5 separate regions of the Homo sapiens genome follow, and regions 2, 3, 4 and 5 are each linked to region 1. The links are contacts of gene promoters, found by promoter capture Hi-C in human tissues and cell types (Jung and others, 2019). All regions are on one chromosome and are shown on one strand. The core of a region is centred on a gene start or on the middle of the fragment in contact, and the rest is flanking DNA. Distances in the headings are between cores, read along the strand shown. Region 1 holds the start of SLC38A10 (solute carrier family 38 member 10). Region 2 holds the start of NPLOC4 (NPL4 homolog, ubiquitin recognition factor). Region 3 overlaps NPLOC4 (NPL4 homolog, ubiquitin recognition factor). Region 4 overlaps LOC124904077 (translation initiation factor IF-2-like). Region 5 overlaps NPLOC4 (NPL4 homolog, ubiquitin recognition factor).

What was found. The method cuts DNA at HindIII sites, captures the fragments that hold promoters and counts their contacts. A contact is called where the count stands out against the background at its distance.
Region 2: a contact is called between the fragment with the promoter of NPLOC4 here and the fragment with the promoter of SLC38A10 in region 1, in 6 of the 25 tissues and cell types used here (bladder, dorsolateral prefrontal cortex, liver and 3 more).
Region 3: a fragment that was not itself captured here is called in contact with the fragment with the promoter of SLC38A10 in region 1 in 2 of the 25 tissues and cell types used here (dorsolateral prefrontal cortex and liver).
Region 4: a fragment that was not itself captured here is called in contact with the fragment with the promoter of SLC38A10 in region 1 in 1 of the 25 tissues and cell types used here (dorsolateral prefrontal cortex).
Region 5: a contact is called between a fragment that was not itself captured here and the fragment with the promoter of SLC38A10 in region 1, in 3 of the 25 tissues and cell types used here (IMR-90 fibroblasts, dorsolateral prefrontal cortex and liver).

Annotation. Positions count from the first base shown.
Region 1 is chr17:81,294,032-81,296,572 of GRCh38, reverse strand. It overlaps SLC38A10 (solute carrier family 38 member 10), which reads left to right and starts at 1,266. Exons shown (of 16, transcript NM_001037984.3): 1 at 1,266-1,750. The coding sequence starts at 1,652. RefSeq lists an enhancer at 601-690 and silencers at 1,351-1,620, 1,721-1,790. The HindIII fragment of the contact is 25,998 bases long and covers 1-2,541 here.
Region 2 is chr17:81,635,851-81,638,391 of GRCh38, reverse strand. It overlaps NPLOC4 (NPL4 homolog, ubiquitin recognition factor), which reads left to right and starts at 1,280. Exons shown (of 17, transcript NM_017921.4): 1 at 1,280-1,476. The coding sequence starts at 1,462. TSPAN10 (tetraspanin 10) reads right to left here and starts at 1,196. Exons shown (of 4, transcript NM_001290212.2): 1 at 986-1,196. RefSeq lists a silencer at 1,341-1,550. The HindIII fragment of the contact is 41,196 bases long and covers 1-2,541 here.
Region 3 is chr17:81,600,560-81,603,100 of GRCh38, reverse strand. The region is part of intron 8 of NPLOC4 (NPL4 homolog, ubiquitin recognition factor); the gene reads left to right. Among named protein-coding and RNA genes, the nearest start is that of NPLOC4, 35 kb to the left of the region's middle. RefSeq lists an enhancer at 1,516-1,675. The HindIII fragment of the contact is 4,537 bases long and covers 1-2,541 here.
Region 4 is chr17:81,012,120-81,014,660 of GRCh38, reverse strand. It overlaps LOC124904077 (translation initiation factor IF-2-like), which reads right to left. Exons shown (of 1, transcript XM_047437254.1): 1 at 644-2,541. Among named protein-coding and RNA genes, the nearest start is that of BAIAP2-DT, 21 kb to the left of the region's middle. The HindIII fragment of the contact is 3,807 bases long and covers 1-2,541 here.
Region 5 is chr17:81,578,622-81,581,162 of GRCh38, reverse strand. The region is part of intron 12 of NPLOC4 (NPL4 homolog, ubiquitin recognition factor); the gene reads left to right. Among named protein-coding and RNA genes, the nearest start is that of FAAP100, 28 kb to the right of the region's middle. The HindIII fragment of the contact is 4,699 bases long and covers 1-2,541 here.

The DNA of each region.
Region 1 (2,541 bases), core at 17-2,516:
GGGCGGATCACCTGAGGTCGGGAGTTTGAGGCAAGCCTGGCCACCATGGTGAAACCTGGTCTCTACTAAAAATACAAAAATTAGCCGGGTGTGGTGGCGGGAGCCTGTAATTCCAGCTACTTGGGAGGCTGAGGCATGAGAATAGCTTGAACCTGGGAGGTGGAGGTTGCAGTGAGCCAAGATCACACCACTGCATATACAGCCTGGGCGACAGAGCAAGACTCTGACTGAAGAAAAAAAAAAAAAAGAACGCAGGCATTTGTTATTTTGCCTGCGTATTTAATTAGTCTTTACCCAGGCATTTCCTCCTGTTCTCCTGAAGGTGGGGCACAGCCTTACTTGGTGGCTGCACTGCCAGTGCCTGAGGAACGGGCCTCTGTTCTAAGACACCTGGTCCTGCAGGTGCTGCAGACACGGCCTCCTTTCCTCCGCCGTCCTCCCCCAGCAGCCTGGAATCACTTGCTGCTTCCCAGCCATTCGGTCTACGCGCTCATTCATTAGACTCAGAGTGAGCAGCTAGGTGCCAGGAATCCACAGATCTATCGGGACCCTTCTCTGTTCTCTCCTCTCCCCGGTCTCCATTTCTACCCGAGGAATTCTCATTTGTCCTTCAAGCTCCAGCCTAGAAGCCACCTCCTTCTGGAAGCCCTCCCGGGTTTCCCTGTTCATGTAAGCCTCCACCTCTCCTGTCCCCTCCAGGAATGTCCCTTGCTCTTTTCGTGTGAAAAGGTGAAGTTCAACATTGCCACTGATCTGGGCGCAGTTCGGCAGGGCACCGCCTCCCCTTGGAGCTGTGTGGCCTTAGCGGAGTGGCCGAGCCTCTCTGTGCCCAGCGTTTCATTCCTACCTCCTAGGTGCTAATTCCTCACAACAGACTATTTTTCGGCTGAGGCAGTCAGGGCCCCCGCCCCCGTGCCCTGGCGCCAAGCACTCGCCCCAGAATCGGTCCTGGGAATAAAGGTCAAAAAGGAACCCTTAAACCCGCTCCTCCCCGGAAGGCACAGCGCCTCCCCTTCTCTCCAGCCCGCGACTGCCCATCCAAACCGAGGCCTCGCGGGGCGAGTCCCTTGTCCTCCAGCTCGTTGAACTGGGGCCCCGGGCACAGGTCGGCTGGACCAGCTTGGCGAACCGGACAGCTGCGAGACCCTCAGGTGCCCACCGGCCCAGTTTCCGCCCGCCCCTCCGGGCCCGCCTCTCATTGGCTCGCGTCCCACCAAACCCTACCCCCTGGCCGTCACTTCCGGGCAACGGAGCCCGTGGAAGGCGGAAGTGTGAGCGCCGCGGCGGCAGCTGAGTTGGGCTGAGGTGTCCCTAGCTGGCTCTGCGGCTCTTCCGGGTCTGGGCTCGGAGATTCACAGGCGGCCCGCGAGGCCGAGCGAGGGACGCATGGCCCTGAGGCGGCCGCAGGGCTTGGCGGGGTCCGGAGGTTGACCTCGCCCCCGCAGCCGGCCTTCGAGGCTGCCTCCTCCAGGCAGCCTCTGGGGCCCGCGCCCGCGCCTGCTCAGGCTCCCGTGTTCAGGCTGCCCATCCCCTCCCCACCGGCGTCCCGGACGTTGGGACCTGTGACCGTGGCCTCGGGCTGGGCTTCCAAAGCCGGCCGCAGCCCGGCGACCCCCGAGGCCTCTCGCCCCGGGCCCCTAGACCTCTCACTATGACCGCGGCCGCCGCCTCCAACTGGGGGCTGATCACGAACATCGTGAACAGCATCGTAGGGGTCAGTGTCCTCACCATGCCCTTCTGCTTCAAACAGGTGAGTCCGGTGGGCCCGGAGATCACCGCCCTCGCCTCCCCCGCAGAGGGGGCGTCTGGCTGGGTCGTCCTGGTTAAAGTTCCCGCCGGGGCAGGGCTTCGCTGGGCGGGTGCAGGCGGCCGCGGGCGGGGCGACCCTCTGGGTCCCGGCGCAGTTCCCGTAGAGAATCCGTGGATGAGAAGCGCACGGCGTTGGCCCTGGCAGCCCTTGTCAGCCCGGGCCGGAAAGTTCCCCACACTCAAAAACTCGATACCGAAGCAAAGTGTAACAAAGCAAAATGATCCTCCAGAATCGGAAGGGAACGGTGGGACTCCGTATTTTTACATTTTATCGTGTTTTTAAAAACTCTGACCCAACTGCACCTGTCTTCAGAAGCACACAACTCACCACTCCCAGGCTTCGACACTAGATAGGGACCTTGGTTGCAAGGTGATTAAAAACATCCACCAGGTTATACACCTAAGATCTGCGTTTCACAAAAACCGCACATTTGGCAGGGGGTGGTGGCTCACACCTGTAATCCCAGCACTTTGGGAGGCCGAGGCGAGTGGATCACCTGAGGTCAGGAGTTCGAGAACTGCCTGACCAACATGCTGAAACCCCATCTCTACTGAAAATACAAAAATTAGCCGGGGGTGGTGGCACATGCCTGTAATCCCAGATACTTGGGAGGCTGAGACAGGAGAATAGCTTGAACCTGGGAGGCGAAGGTTTCAATGAGCCGAAGGTTGCAGTGAGCCGAGATCACGCCATTGCACTCCAGCCTGGGCGACAGAGGGAGACTCCGTCTC
Region 2 (2,541 bases), core at 31-2,530, 340 kb before region 1:
AGGAGGTGAAGGTTGCAGTGAGCCGAGATCGCGCCACTGCACTCCAGTGTGGGTGACAGAGTGAGATTCGGACTCAAAAACAAAAAAAAACAAAAAACAAAAAACTCTGATCCCTGAATTCTCAAGGACACTAATTTTTTTTGAGTAGTAATAAAACCTCAGTAACCTGTACAAGCTGGCTCTGTGTGAATTAAACTCTTTATTGCAATTCCCCTGTCTTGATAAAGTCTAGGCAGTGGGCAGGGACAATATGTTGGGTAGTTACAGTGGCACCCTGAGCAAACTAATACAATTACTAACATAATTTAATCAATTAATGTAATTTAACATAGTTTAAAAAAACTGTCACAGTAATTGTGATGTTGTGAAATATGTATACATTTAGTCTTCCGGTTTCCTGGTATCCAACTCCAAAAATCCTTAGAATCTGTGAAGTGACGTCTTTTTTTTTTTTTTTTGAGATGAAGTCTCACTCTGTCGCCCAGACTGGAGTGCAGTGGCACCAACTCAGTTCATTCTAACCTCCGCCTCTTCGCTTCAAGAGATTCTCCGGCCTCAGACTCCCGAGTAGCTGGGATTACAGGTGCCCGCCACCACGCCCAGTTAATTTTTGTATTTTTAGTAGAGACGGGGTTTCACCACGTTGGTCAGGCTGGTCTTGAACTCCTGACCTCAGGTGATCCACCTGCCTCGGCCTCCCAAAGTGCTGGGATTACAGGCGTGAGCCACCGCGTATGGCCTAATTTTGTATTTTGAGTAGAGACGGGGTTTCACCATTTTGGCCAGGCTGGTCTCGAACTTTTGACCTCAGGTGATCCGTCCACCTTGGCTTCCCAAAATGCTGGGATTACAGGTATGAGCCACCGCGCCCGGCCTGAAATGCAGTTTAAACTCGTTTGTTTTTCTTATGTTAAATTTAAAAAATACTTAAAAAAAAAAACATGAAGGTGTGATCCTGCCTTCCTGAAATTGTTTCTCTACTTACCTGTGCATGGAGAGAAGTTTGGAATGCTGTTTCCCCAATTATAATACGCTATAATACGCAGCAGTAGTTATTTTTGGGTGAGACTTCGGATGCTCGTCTTTGCTTCCTTTTTGGACTTTCCTGTGCCGCTTGGGTTTCCGAGGACGAGCAGAAGTAATCTCAGACGCAACTTTCCAAAATCCCCTCCTCCAGTTGCAGGGATGGCGGGGGCGGGTCAGCGGCGCCGCCCTGCGCATGCGTCGAGCCGTTGGTGGGGCCGGAACCTGGTTTCCCGGCCTCGCGCCCGAGGGGAGCGTATTGAGCGAGGCACCGGGACGTCGGCGGCTGGCGGAGCCGGGCGGGCGAAGCTGGAGCGGCGGTGGCGGCGGCGTAGGGAGGCCGGGGCCGGGGCTGAGGCCGCGGCCGGGTCTGCGAGGCCCTTGGGGCGGCAGGCGGCGGCGGCCCGGGGCTCGAGCCCGGAGGCAGGAGCAGCCGCCATGGCCGAGAGCATCGTGAGTGCGGCGGCCGGGCGGGAGCGGGGACGCCGGGATGAGGCAGCAGATTTGCCGGCCTCGGCCTGTGGGGGAGGCGGGCCTGCCGGCGCCGCGACTCGGCCCCTTTCTCTTCTCTCGCCAGGGCTTTCTCTGTAGTGGCTGGGCCCCTCTCGGGGACTTTCACCCCCCTCGGCTGCTTCCCGTCCGTGTCCCTCCCCAGGGGACTTACGACCCCGGTTCCCCGCCCTGGGCAGGGAAAGGCCGAGCCTTTCTAAGCAGGGAGAATGGACTGTGGCGAAGAGAAACCGCCCTCCTTCCCCACCCGTTTCCCGGCTCCAGGAGACTTCCTGGTCTAATTCCAGGGACTCCCAGCCAGTCCTGCCCCTCTCAGAGCCAGGGACACCTCTTATCCTAATCTCCCTCTGATTCTCTCCTCCTGCTCTCCCGCTTCCCAGCAAGTGCCTTGTCATGAGTCACTAAGGAGAGCAGCTCTGCAGACGGGGACGTTACAGAGCTCCCTCCCCACCAGAAGACCTGGGAAAATGAAAACACAGTAACTTGCCGGCTTTGCTCCTTACTTGGAAGGACAACTTGACAATTCCTCTTTAAAAGGAATGTTGTAAATGATGTTGATTTCACTTTTTACCTGAAATTGAAATTGTCGGCCCGGCGCAGTGGCTCACGCCTGTGATGTCAGCACTTTGGGAGGCCGAGGCGGGTGGATCACCTGGGGTCAGGAGTTCGAGACCATCCTGGCCAACATGGCAAAATCTTGTCTCTACTAAAAATACAAAAAATTAGCCGGGCGTCATGGCGCACTGTAATCCCAGATACTTGGGAGGCTGAGGCAGGAGAATTGCTTGAACGCGGGAGGTGGAGGTTACAGTGAGCTGAGATCCCTCCATGGCACTCCAGCCTGGGCTATAGAGCGAGACTGCGTCTCAAAAAAAAAAAAAAAATTGTCACACACTCCTCCTTAACGTAAAAAATATCAGTGACAAATCAGAAAACCAGTCCCTCGTTAAGTTGTGAGAAGTTTCTTCCCAAAAGTAAATGTGATGGGAAAAAAACTAACTGACCATT
Region 3 (2,541 bases), core at 12-2,511, 310 kb before region 1:
CCCTCTTGGGCTCAAGCAATCCTCCTGCCTCAGCCTCCCAAGTGTCTGGGACTACAGGCGTGCACCACCATGTCTGACTTTTATATGTGTGTGTGTGTGTGTGTGTGTGTGTGTGTGTGTATTTGTGTATATATATGTGTGTATATATATGTGTGTGTATATATATATGTGTGTGTGTATATATACATATATATGTATGTATGTGTATATACATATATAGTGTGTGTGGAGACAGATCTCGCCATGTTACCCAGGCTTGTCTGGAACTCCTGGGCTCACACAGTTCACTCGCCTCAGCCTACCAAAATTCTGGGATTACAAGCATAAGCCACCATGCTCAGCCTAAATCTTTTTAGTTGGACTTCCTGAAGTTTGATTTTTTTTTTTTTTTTTAATTTTGAGACGGAGTTTTACTCTGTCACCCAGGCTGGAGTGCAGTGGCATGATCTCCACTCACTTCAACCTCCGCCTTCCGGGTTCAAGTGATTCTCCTGCCTCAGCCTCCTGAATAGCGGGGATTACAGGTGCCGCCACCACGCCTGGCTAATTTTTGTAATTTTAGTAGAGACAGGGTTTCACCATGTTGGTCAGGCTGGTCTCAAACTCCTGACCTCGTGATCCACCCGCCTCAGCCTCACAAAGTGTTGGGATTATAGGCGTGAGCCACTGCGCCCGGCCTGATTTTTTTTTAATTGTTTAATTGTTTAATTTTTTTTTTTATACAGGGAGGGTCTCTGTGTGGCCCACGCTGGTCTCAAACTCCTGGCCTCAAGTGATCCTACTGCCTTGGCCTCCTAAAGTACTAGAATTACCAGCATAAGCCATTGTGCTTGGCAAAAGTTTGTTTTTTGTTTGTTTGTTTGTTTGTTTTGTTTTGTTTTGAAACAAGGTCTCGCTCCTGAGCGAGATCCTCTTACCTCTTTCTCCCAAGTAGCTGGGACTATCGGTGTATGCCACTGAGCCTGGCTAGTTTTGTTTTTTTTGTATGTGACATTTTTAGTGTAAGCACATACACACACGCATGCATGCACGCACATTCATACTATCCCCCTTCTTTGTTTCTTTGTACGTATAATATGTGCACTTTTTCCACCTAACACTGTCTTGTGGAGATCACCGGATGGCTAGCCTCCTATTTAGATAACCTGCCTGGGAGGCAGGCTGGGGTGCCCTGCAGCTGCTTTCAGAGTTTGCTGATCAGAGTCTGAAACTGCAGGCTATGCATGGGTAACAGCTGGTGTACAGGCTTGCTAGTGGCCCCTGCACAAATGTGTGTCTTTCTTGGCTGTATTTATACGGATTTTCAGTGACATTTTTGGTATCTTTGTATAGCAATAGATGTAGTGTTTCATGAGGCCTTTGCCATGGTTCTTTTAAAAAGAGACACTAGATGGCAGTAGAGACCCCGCCAGTGAAGTCTCAACCCTTAGGTCACTGTGCTGTACTCAGGATGCTGCTTTTCGAAGCACACAGTATTCAGATTCAGTTTTTTTAAAGGGTCTCTTTCATGGAGAGCTCAACGGTTCTATTAAAAGTATAATTGAGGCCAGCCGTGGTGGCTCACATCTATAATCCCAGCACTTTGTAGGGGCAAGGCAGATCACTTGAGGCCAGGAGTTCAAGACTAGCCTGGCTGACATGGCAAAACCCCGTTTCTACTAAAAATACACACACAAAAATTTGCTTATGCAGCTTATGCTGCCACATGTCATTAAACAACTCCTTTTCCTTAGCTTTTTCTCTGAGTTTGTGATTTAACCTACGTTCTGGAGGTATTAATGACCTCCATATGGGTAATACCCAGCAAACGTAAACTTCTTTGTGGTTTGCCAGATTTTCACTAATTTACAAGGATATGCCCAGTTACTGTAACTCAATTTGAGATTACCTTTACCTTTCCTATTCTTATGGCTGGGGTTTCTGCATAGAATGATACCTTTGAATGACCCGCAAGCTACATTTAAGTGAACATTAATGATTTCGGTAAGCTTGGTCCACTCTGGGAAGTGATGTGCTGTGGTTGGTTTCAGTTGCATGGGAGCCAGTCGAAGCTACAACTCATCGACTGCCCTGTGCCAGATGAAAGGAGGTGGTTGATTTTTGAACACCTTTTCCCTTCCTTAGGGTTGGTGAGCTCATCGCTCTCTGTGGAGTTCATAGTGTCCCTGTAACTGAGTATCTTAGCTGTGAAGCCAAGCATTGTCTCTGCAGGAGTGGCACACAGATTTTCCAAGGCTGTTTTGTGGGAATGGATGTTACCTTACAGTTTGAGTCTTGCCTAATTTAGCCAAACCTGTTTGGAGTGAAGCTACTTATCCAAGGAAGTTTGAAAGTAACTTAATTCCCTGATGAAGGAACTTTTAAAACAGGCAGAGTGTGTAGACCTTGCCTTGCCTTAGTCCTGAGTGCTCCTGATGCAGAGCTGTGCAGCACACATCAGCTGGGCCCTGCATGCCACATGTTTTGCAGCCCTGGTAAAAGGTGCAGCACAACCCGAGAAGGAGAGAAGCCGGGAGGCGTGTCGCATGTGTTTTATCTGTG
Region 4 (2,541 bases), core at 24-2,523, 280 kb after region 1:
CCCTGACTAAAAACAACAACAAAATACTGAAAGAGGAGGGTGAAAGTCTCTAACTGTAAGAAATTGTTTTACCTTTCATTTCTGTTAGTTTTTGCTTCATGTGTTTTGAAATTCTATTGTTAGGTGAATACACAATTTGGATTGTTTTGCCTTCTTTTATTATTGAGTAATGTCTCTCATTATCCCTGTTGATATTTGTTTTGAATATACATTGCCTGATATTAACACAACTACTCCATCTTTCTTTTGATTAGGGTTTCTGTGATATATTTTCCCCATCCTTTTACTTGTTTGTTCTGAGATGCAGTCTGGCTCTGCTGCCCAGGCTAGAGTGCAGTGGTGTGATCTTGGCTCACTGCAACCTCCCCATCCTGGGTTCAAGTGATTCTCCTGCCTCAGCCTCCTGAGTAGCTGGGATTACAGGTGCACGCCACCATGCCCGACTAATTTTTGTATTTTTAGTAGAGATGGGGTTTCACCATGTTGACCAGGCTGGTCTTGAACTCCTGACCTCAAGTGATCTGCCTGCCTCAGCCTCCCAAAGTGCTGGGATTACAGGAATGAGCCATCACTCCCGGCCTGTTGATTGTCTTTTTGTATTAGGTCATTCTTGCACTGCTATAAAGAAATACCTGAGACGGGGTCATTTATAAAGAAAGGCTTATTGGTTCGTGGTTCAGCAGGCTGTACAGGAAGCACAGCGGCATCTGCTTCTGGAGAGGCCCCAGGAGGCTTCCAATCATGGTCAAAGGCAAAGCAGGAGGAGGGACATCACATGGCAAAGGCAGGAGCAAGTGGGGGGATGGGGGAGGTGCCACACACTTGTAAATGACCAGATCTCGTGTGAACTCAGAGAGACAGCTCACTTATCACCAAGGGATGGCCCAAGCTCCCATGACCCAAACACCTCCCACCAGGCCCCACCTCCAACACTGGAGATTACAATTCAACATGAGATTTGGGTGAGGACAAATATCCAAACTATATCATTCCACCCGGGACCCCTCCCAAATCTCACGTCCTTCCTACATTGCAAAATACTATCATGCCTTCCCAAGAATCCCCCAAAATCTTAACTGATTCCAGCGTTAACTCAAAAGTCCAAAGTCTCCCCCGAGACAAGGCATGTCCCTTCCACCAATGAGACTGTAAAACAAAATACAAGTAATTTACTTCCAAGACACAATAGGAATATAGGCACTGGGTAAGTACTGTCATTCCAAAAGGAAGAAATCAGCCAAATGAAAGGGACTACAGGTCCCATGGAAGTTCCAAACCCAGCAGGGCAGGTGTTAAATCTGAAAGCTCCAAAACAATCTCCTTTGACTCCATGCTCCACATCCAGGGCACACTGGTGCCAGGGGTGGGCTCCCAAGGCCTTGGGCAGCTCCGCCCTCGGGGCTTTGCAGGTTCCATCCCTAACGCTGCTCTCACAGGTTGTTGAGTGCTTGTGAAACCGCAGGGTGCAAGCTGCTGATGACTTTGCCGTTCTGAATTCTGGAGGGCAGTGGCCCCTTCTCGCAACTCCACTAGGCAGTGCCCCAGCGGGGACTCTGTGTGGGGGCTCCAACTCTCTCAATTAGTCAGATGGGATTTTGGGGATTTGTGGACATTGCTCCTTGGCACTGCCCTAGTAAAGGTTCTCTGTGGGGGCTCTGCCCCCCGCAGCAGGCATCTGCCTGGGAACTTGGGCTTTCTCATACATCCTCTGAAATCGAGACAGAGGCTGCCAAGCCTTCACTCTTGCATTCTGCGCACCCACAGGCTTAATGCCATGTGAAAGCTGTCAAGGCTTACAGCTTGCAACCTCCAAAGTGGCAGCCTGAGCTGTACCTGGGCCCCTGTGAGCTGAGGCTGGAGCTGGAGCTGCTGGGATGCCATATGGGGAGCACTGCCCTGAGGCTGTATAGGGAAGTGGGGCCCTGGGCCTGGCCCACAAAACCATTTCGTTCCCCTAGGCCTCAGGGCCTGTGATGGGAGGGGCTGTCATGAAGGTCATCATTCCATTGGCTTGGTCATCACCTCTCGGCTCATTTTCAAACACGCAAATATCTCTAAGAAGTGGTTCCTCCACACTCTGCTTGAATTCCTCTCCTGAAAAAGCTTTTCCTTTCTCTGCCACATGGCCAGGCTGCGCATTTTCCAAACTTTTTTTTTTTTTTTGCGTGGCGGACAAAGTCTCATTCTGTCGCCAGACTGGAGTGCAGTGGTGTGATCTTGGTTCACTGCAACCTCCGCCTCCCAGGTTCAAGTGATTTTCCTGCCTCAGCCTCCCGAGTAGCTGGGATTACAGGTGCCCTCCACCACACCCGGCTCATTTTTGTAGTTTTAGTAGATGTGGGATATGATGAGGTTTCTCTTCAAATAGCCTGATCAATCCTTTCTTCCTTAATTCATAGTACCTCCCCCACCCCTTTTTCCTTTTTCTCTTTTCTGCCTTTGTTAGATGCCTGGACACGCCACAGGACCAGGCTTATCAGTACCAGCTCACATTCCTTTCCTTATTTGGAAAGGAGACTAGTCTCTAGCTCATTGCAAACG
Region 5 (2,541 bases), core at 29-2,528, 280 kb before region 1:
GGCCAGGCTGGTCTCAAACTCCTGACCTCAGGTCATCCACCCGCCTTGGCCTCCCAGAGTGCTGGGATTAAGGTGTGAGCCACCGCTTCCAGCCTTACTGTGTTTTAAAATCTCTATTTTCTTCTCCTTCAGCCATGAGGAAATAGTCTGACGGGCATAAGCCCACGGGTGGGCTGGCCCAGGGCCACTGGGGATTTTGTACTTCCATGCCATGTCTCTCCCAGGCCCCCAGCTGTGGGCATGGGAGGCTGGCCCTGGGCCCTTCAGAGCTGAGCGGGGAGCGAGAGCTGTTGTGTTTGGGTGGCCAAGCCCTTGGTAGCACTGACCTGATTCACTGTGCGATGCTCTCACGGCATCCATTCTCTCATGTTTAGAGAACACCTGTGAATTGCCAGGCCCTGGAGTTCATGGAGAATGGAGAAGGGCTCCCTGCATCGGGGAGACTGCTGCAGCAGGGGAGGTGGGCCACCCCAGCGGAACGGGTAGAGAAGCTTGGAGTGCCCTGGTGGGTCGAGTCCTGAGAGGGGAGAGAAGGTGTCAATTGGCAGAGCAGCTCTGGGGGTGTCTGGAGGAGATTGTTCAGACAGAGGCAGCAGCCTGTTCCCCACACAGAGAGTGATAAGCAGGGTGGCCTGCTGGGGTAGAGGTGGGAGGGGCCCTTGGAAGCTGAATCTATGGTTGGAAGTGAGATGAGGGCTTCTGAAAGGTGCTGAAGGGAGATGGCTGTGCCGGGGCTGTGAGACGATCACTCTGGCTGCTGGGCTCGGAGCTGGAAAAGGAGACTAGGGTAGAGAGTAGAGATGGCTGTGCAGTAGTGAGGGGGTTGAGTGTGTGGTGTGATCGAGAGAAGAGGCAGGCAGACTCCAGGGTGTCCAGGCCAGGCTGGAAGGCTGGGGATCTGTCGGCGATGTGCTAGTGCAGAGGCACCACCCGGGGTGAGCGCATTGCTTGGGAGAGGCACATGGTACAGATGGTGTTGGGGTGGTGCTTGAGGCCTGGTGAGAGGCCGAGTTGTCCATCCTGGAGGGGATGGCTGAGGAGAACCCCACCTTGGGGGAATGAGGTGGAGAGCACTGGGAGGCAGGAGCTGGGGAGGAGGGGCAGGAGCATAGCGCCCTGGAAGGCAGGCAAGAAAGGAGCTCCCTGGTGAGTCAGGAGAGGAGGCTTTGCCTTCAGCAGCTCAGGGGTGTTGGGAGCTTTGATGAGCCTGGCTGAGTAGTAGATAAGCGGCTGCCGAGAGTGAGCTCACAGAGGAGAATGGGGGGTGAGCTCACAGAGGAGAATGGGGGGTGAGCTCACATCAGCAAGCTGCATGACTCTTTCGGGGGGTTTCACTGCCAGGGAGAGCAAAGGACAGTCACCAGTATGGGAAGTGGGATTGAGAAGTTTTCTTGTTTGGGTTTTTATTAACGTAAGGGAAATACTGACATGGGCATGTACTGCTTCCTGGTGTCCAGCAAAGGAGCTAATTGGCACACAGAGAGGAAGGGGCATGGTCCGTGTGTCAGGGACAGCTTTGGGGCATCTGGAGACAGGTCAGTACAATGAGGATGGGAGGCAGAGGTGGGTGGAGCTGGCAGGAGCGATGGGATGCAGGTTTGGGGATCAGCTTGCTCACAGGAAGCCACAGGGTCAGCTGAAGGGGGAGGCTGGAGTGGAGACCACCTTTTAGACCAGGAACTTGTGAAGGGGGTGTTGTCCAGGTAGGAGGGAGAGGCTGGCAGCAGGAGGGTCTCAAATCTAAAGATCCACATGCATCAGACAGCTCGAAGTCTATTTATTTTTGAGATGGAGTCTCGCTCTGTCACCTAGGGTGATGTGCAATGGCACGATCTTGGCTCACTGCAATCTCCGCCTCCCTGGTTCAAGCAGTTCTCCTGCCACAGCTTCCCAGGTACTTGGGATTACAGGCGCCCACCACCACGCCCAGCTAATTTCTTTTTTGTATTTTTAGTAGAGAGGGGTTTTGCCATGTTGGCCAGGCTGGTCTCAAACTCTTGACCTTAAGTAATCCACCTGCCTTGCCTCCCAAAGTGCTAGAACTACAGGCGTGAGCCACCACGCTAAACAGTAATGCATGCAGTCTATGCTGTGTGCACCTGTGGCCCCAGGTACTCAGTAGGCTGAGGCAGGAGGATCGCTTGAGCCCAGGAGTTCGAGGCTGCAGTGAGCTTTGATTGCACCACTACACTCCTGCCTGGGCAACATAGTGAGACCCTGTCTCTAAATAAATAAATATGGAACATTTTAAATATGAAATGAAATGTATGTTTATTATGAAAAAATTAAATATTGTAGATTGGTAAGAAGAAAATGGACGCCCCCTAGCACCCTTTGTGATATGGATAGGCTTTGTGTCCACACCCACACCTCATCTTGACTCACAATCCCCAGGTGTCAAGGAGAGATGAGGTGGAGATAATTGAATCATGGGGGTGGTTCCCCCATCCTGTTCTCAGTGATAGTGAGTGCATTCTCACAAGATGTGTTAGATTTATAAGGGGCTCTTCCCCCTTTGCTCGGCACTTCTCTTTCCTGCCA